Linked DNA regions of Homo sapiens: regions 2 and 3 are each linked to region 1. Evidence: promoter capture Hi-C in 16 types of primary human blood cells and fetal thymus (Javierre and others, 2016). All regions are on one chromosome and are shown on one strand. The core of a region is centred on a gene start or on the middle of the fragment in contact, and the rest is flanking DNA. Distances in the headings are between cores, read along the strand shown. Region 1 holds the start of CDC20 (cell division cycle 20). Region 2 overlaps EBNA1BP2 (EBNA1 binding protein 2). Region 3 overlaps CFAP57 (cilia and flagella associated protein 57).

What was found. Contacts are between HindIII fragments. The CHiCAGO score rates a contact against its expected background, and 5 or more counts as called.
Region 2: a fragment that was not itself captured here is called in contact with the fragment with the promoter of CDC20 in region 1 in 1 of 17 cell types (total B cells); the score reaches 5.1 in total B cells.
Region 3: a fragment that was not itself captured here is called in contact with the fragment with the promoter of CDC20 in region 1 in 1 of 17 cell types (endothelial precursors); the score reaches 5.4 in endothelial precursors.

Annotation. Positions count from the first base shown.
Region 1 is chr1:43,356,666-43,361,609 of GRCh38, forward strand. It overlaps CDC20 (cell division cycle 20), which reads left to right and starts at 2,316. Exons shown (of 11, transcript NM_001255.3): 1 at 2,316-2,341; 2 at 2,502-2,731; 3 at 2,825-2,973; 4 at 3,060-3,156; 5 at 3,304-3,432; 6 at 3,528-3,724; 7 at 3,834-3,928; 8 at 4,068-4,296; 9 at 4,455-4,580. The coding sequence starts at 2,551. It overlaps CDC20-DT (CDC20 divergent transcript), which reads right to left and starts at 2,008. Exons shown (of 4, transcript NR_183650.1): 1 at 1,885-2,008; 2 at 1,377-1,443; 3 at 1,138-1,235. RefSeq lists enhancers at 1,085-1,593, 1,705-1,764, 2,104-2,612 and silencers at 2,055-2,164, 2,355-2,504. The HindIII fragment of the contact is 10,275 bases long and covers 1,786-4,944 here.
Region 2 is chr1:43,164,637-43,169,580 of GRCh38, forward strand. EBNA1BP2 (EBNA1 binding protein 2) reads right to left here. Exons shown (of 9, transcript NM_006824.3): 5 at 4,303-4,392; 6 at 2,524-2,599; 7 at 2,190-2,283; 8 at 7-169. Among named protein-coding and RNA genes, the nearest start is that of MIR6733, 4.6 kb to the right of the region's middle. The HindIII fragment of the contact is 3,482 bases long and covers 446-3,927 here.
Region 3 is chr1:43,211,952-43,216,895 of GRCh38, forward strand. It overlaps CFAP57 (cilia and flagella associated protein 57), which reads left to right. Exons shown (of 23, transcript NM_001378189.1): 12 at 3,304-3,465. It overlaps LOC105378685 (a long non-coding RNA gene), which reads right to left. Exons shown (of 5, transcript XR_007066041.1): 2 at 3,315-3,442. Among named protein-coding and RNA genes, the nearest start is that of CFAP57, 42 kb to the left of the region's middle. The HindIII fragment of the contact is 862 bases long and covers 2,410-3,271 here.

The DNA.
Region 1 (4,944 bases), core at 1,066-3,565:
ATCCATGTCTGGATAATTTCCATTGCCTTCCTTCATTCATTTATTATTATTATTATTTTGAGACAAAGTCTCCCTCTGTCACCCAGGCTAGAGTGCAGTGGCGCGACCTCGCTCACTACAACCTGCGCCTCCCAGGTTCAAGCGATTCCCCTGCCTCAGCCTCCCAGGTAGCTGGGATTACAGGTGTGCACCACCACACCTGGCTAATTTTGTACTTCTAGTAGAGACAGGGTTTCGCCACATTGGCCCGACTAGTCTTGAACTACTGACTTCAAGTGATCTGCCCGCCTTGGCCTCCCAAAGTGCTGGGATTACAGGAGTGAACCATGACAACCTGCCCAAATCCTTTATTTTTAAATGTACAAATTCCCTGAGGCTATACCCTTTATCCTTCTCTATAGCTACCACCAGAAGTTGCAAATTATTGCCATATCCCCCCCCTCAGATGTTTTATTTGGTCCTTCCCTACACAGAAACCCCACAGGTACCACAATGCCTAGCAGATGAAGTCCAAAGTCTTTAGCTTAACATTTAAGACCCTGACCAACTTGACATGAGACAACCTTTTCTATGTTTTCTGGGAATTCCCCACCTCTAACCTAAGCATATCCAATTCCTTATTTTCCAAGGTAATTGGAAATAGAGAATGCAAAGGCTTCAAGTCAAAGATAATAACATTATCTGTAAGCATCGGAGTGGACTTTAAGCTAATGACTGAAAATGATTTTTCCAGCCTCTTTCTGGGACAGTATAGCGTATTGTTTAGATTGCAGGGATTAGTCAGATAGTTTGAATCCTGGGCTCCCCTACTTATTATTGGCTGCATGCCTTTGGGCAAGTTTCTAATCTTTCTGACCCAGTTTCTTTTTTCTGTAAAGGGAAGATGGGGTATCTATCTGCCTTATGGGATTAAGGATTGAACTCGATAATGTATGTAAACTTTTTTTTTTTTTTTCAGACAGAGTATCGCTCTGTTGCCCAGGCTGGAGTGCAGTGGCTCGATCTCGGCTCACTGCAAGCTCCGCCTCCCGGGTTCACGCCATTCTCCTGCCTCAGCCTCTCGAGTAGCTGGAACTACAGGCGCCCGCCACCAAGCCCGGCTAATTTTTTGTATTTTTAGTAAAGACGGGGTTTCACCGTGTTAGCCAGGATGGTCTCGATCTTCTGACTTCGTGATCTGCCCGCCTCGGCCTCCCAAAGTGCTGGGATTACAAGCGTGAGCCACCGCGCATGGCCTGTAAATTGTTTTAACACAGTAGTTAGATGGTCCATAAATGGTACCATTATTACTTTTATGATTGCTGCTCCACCTCTGAGCACATTCATACAATTCACTCAAGTCATTATTAGAGCACTAGATTGAGTGCGAGTCAGACCTGGATTCCCACAAACTTCTTTGTATGACCTCGGGCACATCCCTTCCCTGGGCCTCCGTTTCTCCATCTGTAAAATATGGATTTGTTGTCGGGGTGGGGAGGCTGCACCACGCACAGGTTAGACTAATGGATCTCTAAGGTCCTCACATCTTTAAAGCCCCAAGGGGATAAGCCACAGTGCCTCCTGTAGGGCAGTCTAAGCTTATCTTCCAGATAGGCAGGTTTGAATACCGATCCTTTTTCTTGACCTTAAGGAATTCATTCACCCTTTTCAACCTCATTTTCCCTGTTTGTAAAACAACAGCAAACGAGACAAACACACGTTACTTCCTTTCTAGCAGGGTTCCTACCCGGCGCCAAGCAAAAGTGGAATGTACCCTAAGTAGCTCTGGCCTTCTTCCTGCTCCCAAGCTTCCCAATTCCGTCCCCTGCCCCGCTGCCGCCCGCGGCTCTCCTTCCCCTTCTAGGAACGGCTCAAGCGCCTTGGGCACTCCATCGGGTTCTGCACCGAGTTCTGCATCATAAATACGACTCTCGTGTAGGATTTAAGTGTGAACTTCTGCAGGTTCTCGGACCCTGAAGCACCCGGGGCCAGACATTCCGAGCTCGCGGCGGTGGAAGGCACGCAAAAGGGCGAACCGAGACGACTCCAGGACGCTGAGGCAGCGCAGGCCCCACCCGGCCCCGCCCTGCCCCGCCCTGTCCCGGCCGGCTTTCCAGTACTAGTCCTCTGGCGCCGGCTCCCAGCCCCTCTCGTACCCTTCAAATCGCGCTCCGCCGCTAGACTCTCGTGATAGCTGAGACTTTCCCCGGAAGGCCCGCCCCCTTCGCCGGAGAGGCCAATGGGCTAGGGCAACGGTTGCGACGGTTGGATTTTGAAGGAGCCAATAGGCGCTCGGAGCGGAGAGTTTAAGAGGCGTAAGCCAGGCGTGTTAAAGCCGGTCGGAACTGCTCCGGAGGGCACGGTGAGAGGTGGTGGGGCTGAGCCGAGGTGGGGCCGTGGCCAGGGGGAGGGGGTGCTAGGCCGGAAGGGGCTGCAGCCGAGGGTGGCCCTGATTTTGTGGCCGGCCAGGAGCGAAGGGGTCCCTTTCTGTCCCCTGAGCACCGTCGCCTCCTTTCCTCCAGGGCTCCGTAGGCACCAACTGCAAGGACCCCTCCCCCTGCGGGCGCTCCCATGGCACAGTTCGCGTTCGAGAGTGACCTGCACTCGCTGCTTCAGCTGGATGCACCCATCCCCAATGCACCCCCTGCGCGCTGGCAGCGCAAAGCCAAGGAAGCCGCAGGCCCGGCCCCCTCACCCATGCGGGCCGCCAACCGATCCCACAGCGCCGGCAGGACTCCGGGCCGAACTCCTGGTCAGTGAGGTGCCAAAGGAACTGAGTGAGAGCAGCCTTCATACTTTCTCCCTGGGGAGCCTGGTCAGACTGTCTTCTCTTTCTCCGCCCCAGGCAAATCCAGTTCCAAGGTTCAGACCACTCCTAGCAAACCTGGCGGTGACCGCTATATCCCCCATCGCAGTGCTGCCCAGATGGAGGTGGCCAGCTTCCTCCTGAGCAAGGAGAACCAGCCTGAAAACAGCCAGACGCCCACCAAGAAGGTATGTGTCCCAGAGGGGCTTAAGGCACGGGACCTGACTGTTCTTTGGATAATACCATCTTGCTCCTTCACTACCCTTTATGCCAGGAACATCAGAAAGCCTGGGCTTTGAACCTGAACGGTTTTGATGTAGAGGAAGCCAAGATCCTTCGGCTCAGTGGAAAACCACAAAATGCGCCAGAGGGTAAGACCCGAAGTTCCTGGTTCCTGGAGGGAGGTGTCAGTTCATCTCCAGGGCTGAGCACAGATATCTGTCTCCTCTTCCTATCTAAGATTGAGGGCAAGGGAGGTGTTGATTTTCCCAGCGTCTAGACTCACTCCGTTGCCACAGGTTATCAGAACAGACTGAAAGTACTCTACAGCCAAAAGGCCACTCCTGGCTCCAGCCGGAAGACCTGCCGTTACATTCCTTCCCTGCCAGACCGTATCCTGGATGCGCCTGAAATCCGAAATGACTATTGTAAGTGCATCCTTATCCTCGCCTCATGCATGGAGAAAGAGGGCCTGGGACCACACAAACAAGGAAGCTCATGCTCTTCTCTCCACCTCTGACAGACCTGAACCTTGTGGATTGGAGTTCTGGGAATGTACTGGCCGTGGCACTGGACAACAGTGTGTACCTGTGGAGTGCAAGCTCTGGTGACATCCTGCAGCTTTTGCAAATGGAGCAGCCTGGGGAATATATATCCTCTGTGGCCTGGATCAAAGAGGGCAACTACTTGGCTGTGGGCACCAGCAGTGCTGAGGTGCAGGTGAGACGTGTCCAGTGCTGTCATTCTCACCAGTCCCAATGGGCTTGCACAGCTGGAGGATATTAATGCCAAGTCCCAATCTCTGATCCTAGTGGGCTTCTCTCTCTAGCTATGGGATGTGCAGCAGCAGAAACGGCTTCGAAATATGACCAGTCACTCTGCCCGAGTGGGCTCCCTAAGCTGGAACAGCTATATCCTGTCCAGGTCAGTGGTTTTTGTTGGTCTATGGTAGTCTGATATTTGCCCACCCTCCCCTTGACTGTACACCCCTGAACTGAACCAGCTCTGGCTTGCTTGCATTTGGTGCTGCCACAGAACCTGATTCCCTTCTTTCCTCCTCCAGTGGTTCACGTTCTGGCCACATCCACCACCATGATGTTCGGGTAGCAGAACACCATGTGGCCACACTGAGTGGCCACAGCCAGGAAGTGTGTGGGCTGCGCTGGGCCCCAGATGGACGACATTTGGCCAGTGGTGGTAATGATAACTTGGTCAATGTGTGGCCTAGTGCTCCTGGAGAGGGTGGCTGGGTTCCTCTGCAGACATTCACCCAGCATCAAGGGGCTGTCAAGGTGAGTAGGGTTGGGCTGAAGCCTCTGCAGACCCTCACCTATAATCTGGGGACTGTTAAGGGGAGAAGGGATGGTAGGATTGGACTGGGTTAATCTGTGACCCCTAGAGCTCCTTGTCTGGCTCTAGTACCTGCTGACCCCACCTTTATTCCATCTAGGCCGTAGCATGGTGTCCCTGGCAGTCCAATGTCCTGGCAACAGGAGGGGGCACCAGTGATCGACACATTCGCATCTGGAATGTGTGCTCTGGGGCCTGTCTGAGTGCCGTGGATGCCCATTCCCAGGTAATCTTTTGCCTGTTCCTGCCTCTCCCACATGCATTCTTACCGGGCAACTACATTCACTCCAATGGCTTCACCAACTCTATGCCCTGGTGATTCCCAAACTTCTAACTCAGCTCTCACTCATGAGCTTCATTTCCAACAGTCTGTGGCTATCTCCAATCCTATGTCCTATAGGCACCACCACCTTGATCTGTCCCAAATTAACCTTGTCACTTCCCCTTGCCTCCCTGAAATGTGTTCCTTCCTGTCTCACATTGCTTTGGAATGGCAGAACCTGCTCAGAAATCTGAGAAACCTCCTAGAATTTTTCATCCTCCTCACCAGGATCTATCAGTTTTACCTCAAAATATCATTGACATCTGTC
Region 2 (4,944 bases), core at 937-3,436, 190 kb before region 1:
ACTTACATTTGACCCTTTCTTGCCAGGCCTCTTGAGGCCTCTGCCATGAGCTGTCTTGGCCCGGAAGCTAGATACATCATCATAGCTCTCCCGAGTGTTCCACTTTGAGCCTTTCTTCTTTCCACCAAAACCAAACTTCTGGTTTTTATACCGTCGTTTAGCACTGGGCCTGGAAAAGAATGGTCCTAGACATCACTACAGCACTGTAAAGCCTGATGAACCTGATGGCCCAGCAATGCTCTCAGTTTCCTTTCTATAAGCAAAGCCCCTTAGGCACGTCTGTAACCCAGAATCTCATCCTTGGCCCCACAATCCTATGCTACAGCCTCTCTAGACAAACTCATCTAGCTCACCTATTTACAGTTTTGACCACCAGGGCAGGAAAATAAAGCAAGAAGCAGGGAAGGCTCTACATATATTACATGGCTTCCTGCTGTCTTTAGAAAGCTTTCTATTTTAACCAAATCTTATTAAATCACCCTCAGTTGTGTCTATTCCTCTCAAGGGTAAATACATGCAGTTAACATCCAAATGTAATATGTTACATTTGTAACATTCAAATGTAATGTAATGAATACGTTCAAATGTAAACATTCAAATGTAATTATAGGCATTCAAATAACATTCAAATGGAATAACATTCAAATGTAAAACTGGTCATCCAATAGGAATCTTGAATTCAGCATCTCCAAATTCACATCATCTCCTGGACTGGCTCTGCTTCCTGTACATATGCCCTCACTTGAGGCTGGCGCTGCTCCCACCAACCCAGACACACAGGCTAAACATGTGGGAGTCAGCCTTGGTTCTTCTCTCACTCTTTATACCCAATTCAATTACTGAGTCCTGCTCATTTCACCTCTTAAATGTTTCTTCAATCCTTATCTCGACTTTTGCAATAGTACCCTTGTCAATTTCCCAGCTTCCCTCAAGTCTGTCACTTATACAAAATCCACTGTGATCTTTTTAAAAACATGAATATAACCTGCTCATTACTGTTAGTACAACCTACAACCTAGTCTCTCCACTGCCTTCTGACAAAGCCCAAGCTCCTCAACAAGGCAAACCCACAGCCCAGGTCCCCCCAAACACATTGCACCCCTCCTTGCTTTGCACTGTATTCCCAGTGACACCAAGGGCTTACTGTTCCTCACAAAACCCTGAGGTTTCACATCTCGATGGCTTTGCTCGTTCAAGCTCTTACTTCTTCCCAAACCCAGCTTCTCTTCTATTCTCGTGGTTAATTCCTACTCATGCTTCAAGCAATGCTCAAGTCGAACGCTCCTCCAGAAATCCACCCCAGACCCTGTCAGGTATTTATAAAAGCTGACTCAGTACTAATCCCCAAATGCCTCTATCATAGCACTTACTATCTTACATGGAAATTATCATTTCCCCTAGGCCTGGTATCCAGGTATGCAAAAAAGCAGACTAGAAAAAACAATGAGAGCCCACATTCTCTCTTTCAGTCTTCATACTATGAGGCAGACACTATTTCCTCAACTTAGCAGATGAGGCAATTAGCATTTAGAAAGGCATGGTAACTCGTTCAAAACTGCCCTCCTACTGAGTGGTAGAGTCGGGATCTGAACCCTAGGTCTGAACTCTCAACCATCGCACTGTGTGATGGGGAATCAACTTTACTCAGCATTCACTTAAAGGGTGCCACATACTTAAAAGTACCTTCTTAGGATGGGTGCAGTGGTTCACACCTATAATCCCAGCACTTTGGGAGGCTGAGGTGAGTGAATCACTTGAGGCCAGGAGTTCACAACCAGCCTGGCCAACATGGTGAAACCCTGTCTCTACTACAAATACAAAAATTAGCTGGGTGTGATGGCAGGCACCTGTAGTTCCAGCTACTCAGGAGGCTGAGGCACAGAATTACTTGAGCCCAGGTGGCAGAGGTTGCAGTGAGCCAAGACTGTACCAGTGCACTGTAGCCTGAGTGACAGAATGAGACTGTCCAAAAAAAAAAGAAGTTTAAAAAGTGCCTTCTTTTACTCTTCAAAGACTGACATGGCTAAAAGGGCCCATCACACAGTCATAGGGGTCCTGGCCCCAGGCAGCAGCTGCACTCTCTGGACTCTATGGCTGCGCCGGTGGAGGTGCTATGTCTGCCATACTCGTGACCTGTGGCCCCATCGCACCTCACAGAACCAAAGAAACCATGCCAAAACCCTTCTCACCCCTTCCTCATCTGCTGGCCTTTGGCTCCTGCCTTCTTGCGCTGTGCCAGAGGTTTCTGATCTCCCTCAAGGAAATCCAGTTTATCAGAGAAGCCTGTAAGTGAAGAAGTAGTTTTGATCAGCACCATTGTATTTTAAGAATAAAAGTTTAAACCACCATATGAGGCTGTTATTTGCTACACTGATTTTAAGAGTCACATCCTGCTCTCCAACACCATTCCCAAAACTTTGATCCGACAGGTCCACATCAACCAAGAAGGCTCCAAAGCACTAAGTGTTCAAATCAACTCTAAAGTACCTGCTACCCTCGTTCCCCTATTAGAGATGTACCAACCTTTCTGATATTTCTTAATAGCATTCATCATATGGGCTTTCTCCTGCTGCCTCTTCTGAAGAACCTCCGTTTGCACCTGTGATATGAACACAAGGACCGTTACAGCCATTCCATACCATTACTCCAGTGTCTACATTGTCTTAATAGCAACACCATGATTAATACCACTACCCTCTGACATTTACTACGTGCCAAAAACTGTGTTAGGGACTCTAAGTATATTCTCAGATCTAGGTATATTCTTCATAGATGAAGATATATCTGTCTCATAACAATCCAGTGAAGTTGAAATTTGTGTTATCCCCTAAACTGAAGCACAGGGAAGTTAACTTGCCCAAGTCGCACAGTGAAAAAATGCACAGCCAAGATGACCCAGGCTGTTTGACTCCAAAGCCAGCACTCACCCTATTATACAATCCTGCCTACAAAACTGAAGTAAATCATGTTTAAGACTACATCGATTTTTCGCATCACATTTGGACAGATTAATTATCTAACTCACTGTTACTAGGCATGAAAGTACCAAAAGGAAGAGAAAAAAACAATGTCCCCAGGTAAAGAAAAGAAAAAAGTTTGAAGGATAAAAGGAGACACTTTATAATACTCTAACAGAGGGTTTCTCAATCTTGATACTGCTACAGTGTGGAGAGAATAATTCTTTGCTGGGGGGTAGGGGCCTGTCCTACACTGTAGGATATTTAGCGGCACCCCTGCCCTCTACCTACTAGATGCCAGTAGTACCCTCCCTCCCAAATTTGACAACTAAAAATATCTCCAGGCAGTCACAGAAAACTCTTGGGGAGCAAATTCACCCCCAGTTAACAAACTCTTCCCCAGTGTTTCCTTAAATTAGGAACAGTGAACTAATAGGCCCAAGTGAGTTTGTCTTTGCTTTTGGTAACTTTGGCTATGTTAAATTAATTACTGGTGTCTTTGAGAGAATCTCAGCCATCCACCTCCAGATCAAAGAAATAATAAATCCGCAGCAGGCCTTTTGTAGAGGACAGGATCCCAGCCTATTCCTACTTTGCTGAGAATGTATCAGTGAAATGACTCCAAACGTGGACAAGAGTTCTGCAGCCCAGATCACAAGTGCTTATGTCCAAATGTTGACGAAGTCTTAACACCCACACCAATCTTCCTCACATTCATTTCTTCCCACAATCCTAACTTTAAAATCTGTCATCTTCTTTCTTAGATGACCATGAAATAAAAAAGGAAAACCAAGAAAAGTTTTAGGGTATGCCTGATCTGGTGTTACATTAGAACTCAGACATTCATAGTTCAAACACGCAGGCAATCTTTCAGATTGGATGACAATCATTATGATAATTTCTTCAGGTACGTGATTATCACATAGATCAGTGAATCCCAAACCAGGATGCATTTCAGAATCACCTGGAAAGCTTTTGGGGAAGAGGGGAAAACAGGCACAGATTCCTGGGGATTCTGAAGTCTAGAATTCTGTTTTGAAAAATTTCCCCTGGTGATTTTGCTATAAGGTCAGGTTTGGAAACCACTCATCTGGACCCAGTGTACAGATGTGAAAACTAACGCCCAGAGAGGTGATTGGCTCACCTGCAGTCACCATACTACTCCTGGGGAACCACTCATGTCCAGGCAAGATTGTGCTCATGAATACCAGCACATACACTGAGAGACGGTAAATACATGATCAACACACAGTTCCGTTCAGTTCAGGGGACCAAGTCAGACCACGGCAATCTCATCTAACACACACTCCGCCTCTTCCTGTTCCCTGCACACTTTTCTTCTCACCTTCTTCCCGTATTTCCTAAGTGCTCGCAGTTGCTTAGCTTTTTCAGACCTCTCCATGGCAGCCTGTTTAGTCTGCAGCTTCTGTCGAATCTACAACACAAAATGCTGTCAGTTCATGTCATTTGAATCTGGAATGACCACTACTTAGGATTCGCTAGAGCAGGGAACAGATATTCCCTGTTCTTTAAACTGCGGAACTTATAAATCATCAGTTCCAACCCCTGAGGACAATGGGGCCCACAGGCTGAGCACTTTACCAAAAGTGCCAGAGTGAAGCCAGAGATTGAAAGTCACCTTCCCGCTCCCAGTGTGCTGTCTGTTTCATTATACAAACTGCCTATTTGTAGCCCAGGAAAGAAGACAAACTTCTCCCCATTTCTACTGTCAGTAGACTGAGGCTGGAAACCAGTATGCGGCCTCAGTGTCCTTTTCTAGTATACCACATACACAATAAAAACCCAGGCAGATACCAGGTGCCTAGCCTTTTCAGTCAAACATACACATTTTAGTTAAAGGATGAGAAGTTGTCAGTGAGAATTTGTACAGAGTTCACAGTAAGAAGGTGAACTACTACCACGACAAAAGCTCCCTAAAATCCAGCTTGAGACCCCAGGGTACTATTTAAATATACTTATCCCTCAG
Region 3 (4,944 bases), core at 1,591-4,090, 140 kb before region 1:
CTATTCTCAAGATTCTTGACACATACTGCTGATTGTGAGAAGACATTTTTCACAGTTAATCCTTTTGTTTTAACTTTTTATCTTGAAATACTTATAGGTTTAGAGGAAATTTTAAAGATGGCACAGAGTTCCCGTGTATCCCTCAATCAGTTTCCCCCAGTAATTACATCTTCTAGAACTGTAGCAAAATATCAAACCAGAAAATTGACATGGTCCACAGTGTATGTAGTTCTGAATTATTTCTCACATGTACAGTCTGTGTAACCACCACTACAATCACACTATAGAACCGTTCCATCCCCACAAAGATCTCCATCTGCCCTTCAGAGTCCTACCACTCCTCCCGACTATCATCCCGAATCCCTGCCTACCACTAATTTGTTCTTATTTCCATAACTTTTGTCATTTTGAGAACTGTATATGGAATTATACTGTATGTGGCCTTCTGAAAATGGCTTTTTTATTGATACGTAGTATTTGTACATATTATGAAGTACCTGTGATGTTTTGTTACAGTCATAGAGCATGTAATGATCAGGTCAGGATATTTAGGGTTTCCATCCATCTCGCGTATTTATGATTTCTGTGTGTTGGGAGCATTTCAAGTCCTGTCTTCTAGCAATTTAAAAATATACAATATATTGTTGTTAACTATAGTCACCTTACTCTGCTATCAAACATTAGAACTTATTTCTTCTTTGACCTGGCACGTGGGTCATGCCTGTGATCCCAACACTTTGGGAGGCTGAGGCAGCCAGATCACTTGAGGTCAGGAGTTTGAGACCAGCCTGGCCAACATGATGAAACCCCCGTCTCTACTAAAAATACAAAAATTAGCCAGGCATGGTGGTGCACGCCTGTAATCCCAGCTACTCGAGAGGCTGAGGCAGGAGAATTGCTTGAACCTGAGAAGCAGAGATTTCAGTGAGCTGGGAGATCGTGCCACTGCACTCTTAGCCTGGGCAACATAGCAGACTCTATCTCAAAAAAAAAAAAAAAGAAAGAAAGAAAGAAAAGAAAACTGATTTCTTCTATCTAATGTTTGTATCTGTTAGCCAATCTCTCTTTAGCACCCCACCAACCCATACACTCTTCCCTAGTATCTATCATGCCACTCTCTACTTCCATGAGGTCAACTTTTTTTTCTTTTTTTTGAGATAGAGTCTCACTCTGTCGCCCAGGCTTGAGTGCAATGGCATGATCTCCGCTCACTGCAACCACCGCCTCCTGGGTTCAAGCGATTCTTCCACCTCAGCCTCCCAAGTAGCTGGGATTACAGGCACATGCCATCATGCCCGACTAGGGTCAACATTTTTTAGCTCTCACATATGAATGAGAACACACAATATTTGTTTTTCTGTACCTGACATATTTCACTTAACTTCACGACCTCCAGTTCCATCCATGTTGCTGCAAAAACATGATTTCATTCATTTTTTACGGCCAAATAGTATTCCAGTGGGTATATATACCACATTTTCTTTATTCATTCATCCACTGATGGACACTTAGGTTGATTCCATATCTTTACTATTGGTGGTACAATAAATATGGGGGGGGCGGTGGAGCGCAGGTATCCTTTCAATCTGCTGATTTCCTTTCCTTTAGAAAAGTATCCAGTAATGAGATTGCAGGATTGTATGGTAGTTCTATTTTTAGTTTTTTTGAGAAGTCTACATACTGTTTTCCATAGTGGTTGTACTAATTTACCTTCCCACCAACAGTGTATAAGAGTTCTCTCTTCTCCACATTCTTGCCAGAATCTGTTATTTGTTGTCTTTTTGATAATACCTACTCTAATTGGGGTAAGATGGTATCTCATGGTGGTTTTGATTTGCATTTCCCTGATGATTAGTGATGTTGAGCATTTTTTCATATACCTGTTGGCCATTTGTATGTCTTCTTTTGAGAAATGTCTATTCATGTCCTTAGCCCACTTTTTTTTTTTTTTTGAGATAGAGTTTTGCTCTTGTCACCCAGGATGGAGTGCAATGGTTCAATCTCGGCTCACTGCAACCTCCCCCTCCTGGGTTCAAGAGATTCTCCTGCCTCAGCCTCCCGAGTAGCTGGGATTACCGTGCCTGCCACCACGCCCAGCTAATTTTTGTATTTTTAGTACGGATGAGGTTTCACCATGTTGTCCAGGCCGGTCTCAAACTCCTGACCTCAGGTGATCCACCCTCCTCAGCCTCCCAATGTGCTGGGATTACAGGTGTAAGCCACCACGCCCGCCCCTTAGCCCACTTTTTAATGAGATTTTTAGATTTTTTTGTTTGTTTAATGTTGAATTGTTTGAGTTCTTTGGTATTCTGGATATTGGTCTTTTGTCAGAGCAATAGTTTGCAAATATTTTCTCCCATTCGACAGGTCGTCTCTTCAGTCTGTTGATTGTTTCCTTTGCTGTGCAGAAGCTTTTTAGCTTAATGTCCTGATTGTGGCTTTTTCCACTCAGCTAAATCTTCAAATCCATCCAAGTTGTGTTGTGTATCAATCATAGTTTATTCCCTTTTATTTCTGAGTAGTATTCCATGAAAAACAAATCACAGTTTGTATAGCCATTCACCTATTGTAGGATATTTTTAATTTTTTCCAGTTTTCAGCTATTATAAATAAAGCTGCTGTGACCAATCATATACAGGCTTTTGTGTGGAAATAAGTTTTCATTTCTCTGGGATAAATGCCCAGGAGTATAATTGCTGAATCATATGGTAAGTGTATATTCAGGTTTGTTTTTTTTTAAACTGCCAAGCTATTTTCCAGAGTGGCTGTACCATTTTACATTCTTACCAAGAATGTATGAGACCCAGTTTCTCTGCATCATTGCCAGCACTTGGTGTTGTCACTGTTTTTTATTTTAGCTGTTCTAATGGGTGTGTAGTGATATCTCATCATGGTCCTAATTTTGCATTTTCCTAAATGGCTAATAATGCGGAGTATCTCTTCATGTGCTTACTTGCCATCTGTGTATTTTCCCTGGTGAAATGTCTCCTTATCTTTTGTCTACTTTCTGATTGGATTGTTTGGCTTTTTTACTGTTGAGTTTTGAGAGTTTCTTGTTCGTTCTAGATAATAGCTGACTCTTCAGATTCCAAATCCACAGAGAATGTAGACGTAACCTTACTTCTTCTATTCATTAACAGATGCCTGTGAGGGCTCCTCTCTCATTCTTACCTGGGATCAAGTTTACCTCCCTGTGAGGCTGTGCCCAGGATTGCATGGGGGGAAGCCTTGCGCAACAGCTGGCTCAGCCCTGGTCATCTGTGGCCTTGAAAGCTTCCTGGCCATGACCCTTTTTCTCTTCAGATGTTGCTTACCTTTGATGATCAGTTCCTGCTGACTGCTGCTGAGGATGGCTGCCTGTTCACCTGGAAGGTCTTTGATAAGGATGGCCGGGGAATCAAGCGAGAGAGGGAGGTGGGCTTTGCCGAAGAGGTGCTTGTGACTAAAACAGACATGGAAGAAAAGGTAAGAACTGGATCTAATGAAGAGGGATATGGAATTACTTACCAGACTGCATTCAGATGCAGGTCCAGCACTGGGGCCCTCTACAGCCTGGCTACACCCTATGCCCAGTGCAGACCCCCACGGCTCCCTGCACATCTGCTGTCCCCACAACCAAGCTCTCCTCCTCATTGCCACTGTCCACCCGACTCTGCCTGTCTTTCTGCCATGTGATCATCTTGACTTACACTGTGCTTTGCTTTTATTCTGTGATCTGGTTTTCTCTTCCTACTCTTTGAAACCAAGAATAATGAAACATACAGTTCTCTTATGACCAACAGTTCCTAGCACATGCTGGGCACATGGAAGACAATCAATAAATATTTACAAAAGTAAAGTATGTTCTCATTTAAATCTCACAACATCTCTATGAAGAAGATACTGTCATTCTCCCCATGTTTCAAAAAACAAGTTAGGAGAGCTTGAGGGATGTGTTCAAAGTCAGTGTGCTAATAATTAATAGGACTAGAGTTCTAATCCAGATTTAATCCAGAGCCCCCTCCCTTAATCACTATACCAAAGGGACATCCCTTCCTTCCTGTTGATGCAGTAAACATTCCATAAAGGTGTGTTTTGCAGAGATATGAGTGCATAGCTCTGTGTTACGCTTCCTAAGGGAGAAGCTGAATGGATGATAAACACACAAGGCTCATGGAGGATCGCAAAGCTACACAGTCATTGCTGTTTGTCCAGAATCTTAAGTGTGTTTATTGAACACCTACCATTTGCTAGGCACTGGGGATGCACATGTGAAAAGACAGTTGTGGGCCCTGTGACATGACCAGGAAGCTTACAGTCAAGTGAGGGATAGAAACAAGTAAAGCCATCAGAGCAGCAATACAACACTGCCACAAAGCACGGTGACAAGCCCCTGGCATTCGCTGGAGATCCCTTCCAGAGCTCCCTAGAATTTTCTGCAGGAAAAGCAAAGAGGGAGAAGAGGATGAGGGAGGGGCCCGTGAGAGTGGGGGCCTGACCTGCTGCAGAAGGGACATTTCCTTTTCTCTGTTATCTTTTCTGTTCTTCCCAGAGGGTAGGGGAAGAGGCCAAATAGGAGACAGCAGGCTGAACCAAAGGCCTGAAGGTGCCCAAGCTGGCTTCTGACCACAGCCCCCAGATGGGCCTGACAGTACCGCTGCCAGGCTGGAAATGACTTGTGCATATACCGCTCCTTCTTGAAACTCCCTTCTGTCTTACCATCCTTGTGACCACACTCTGTTCCCTGAAAACCTTTCTGACTCCTCCTCCCCGCTTCTGTCCTGGCTCTTCCTCCGCCTGTCCCTTAAAAAGCATGTTCCCAGAATTCCCAACTCTCTTTATATTCCATTATAGTCTAAGTAACTCTCAGGCCATGATTTACCTTCTCTGCCTAGGATTTACAGAGGGGTCTGCTGTGTACCTGACACTATACTAAGGTCTGGGATTACAGAGATAAAAGACATA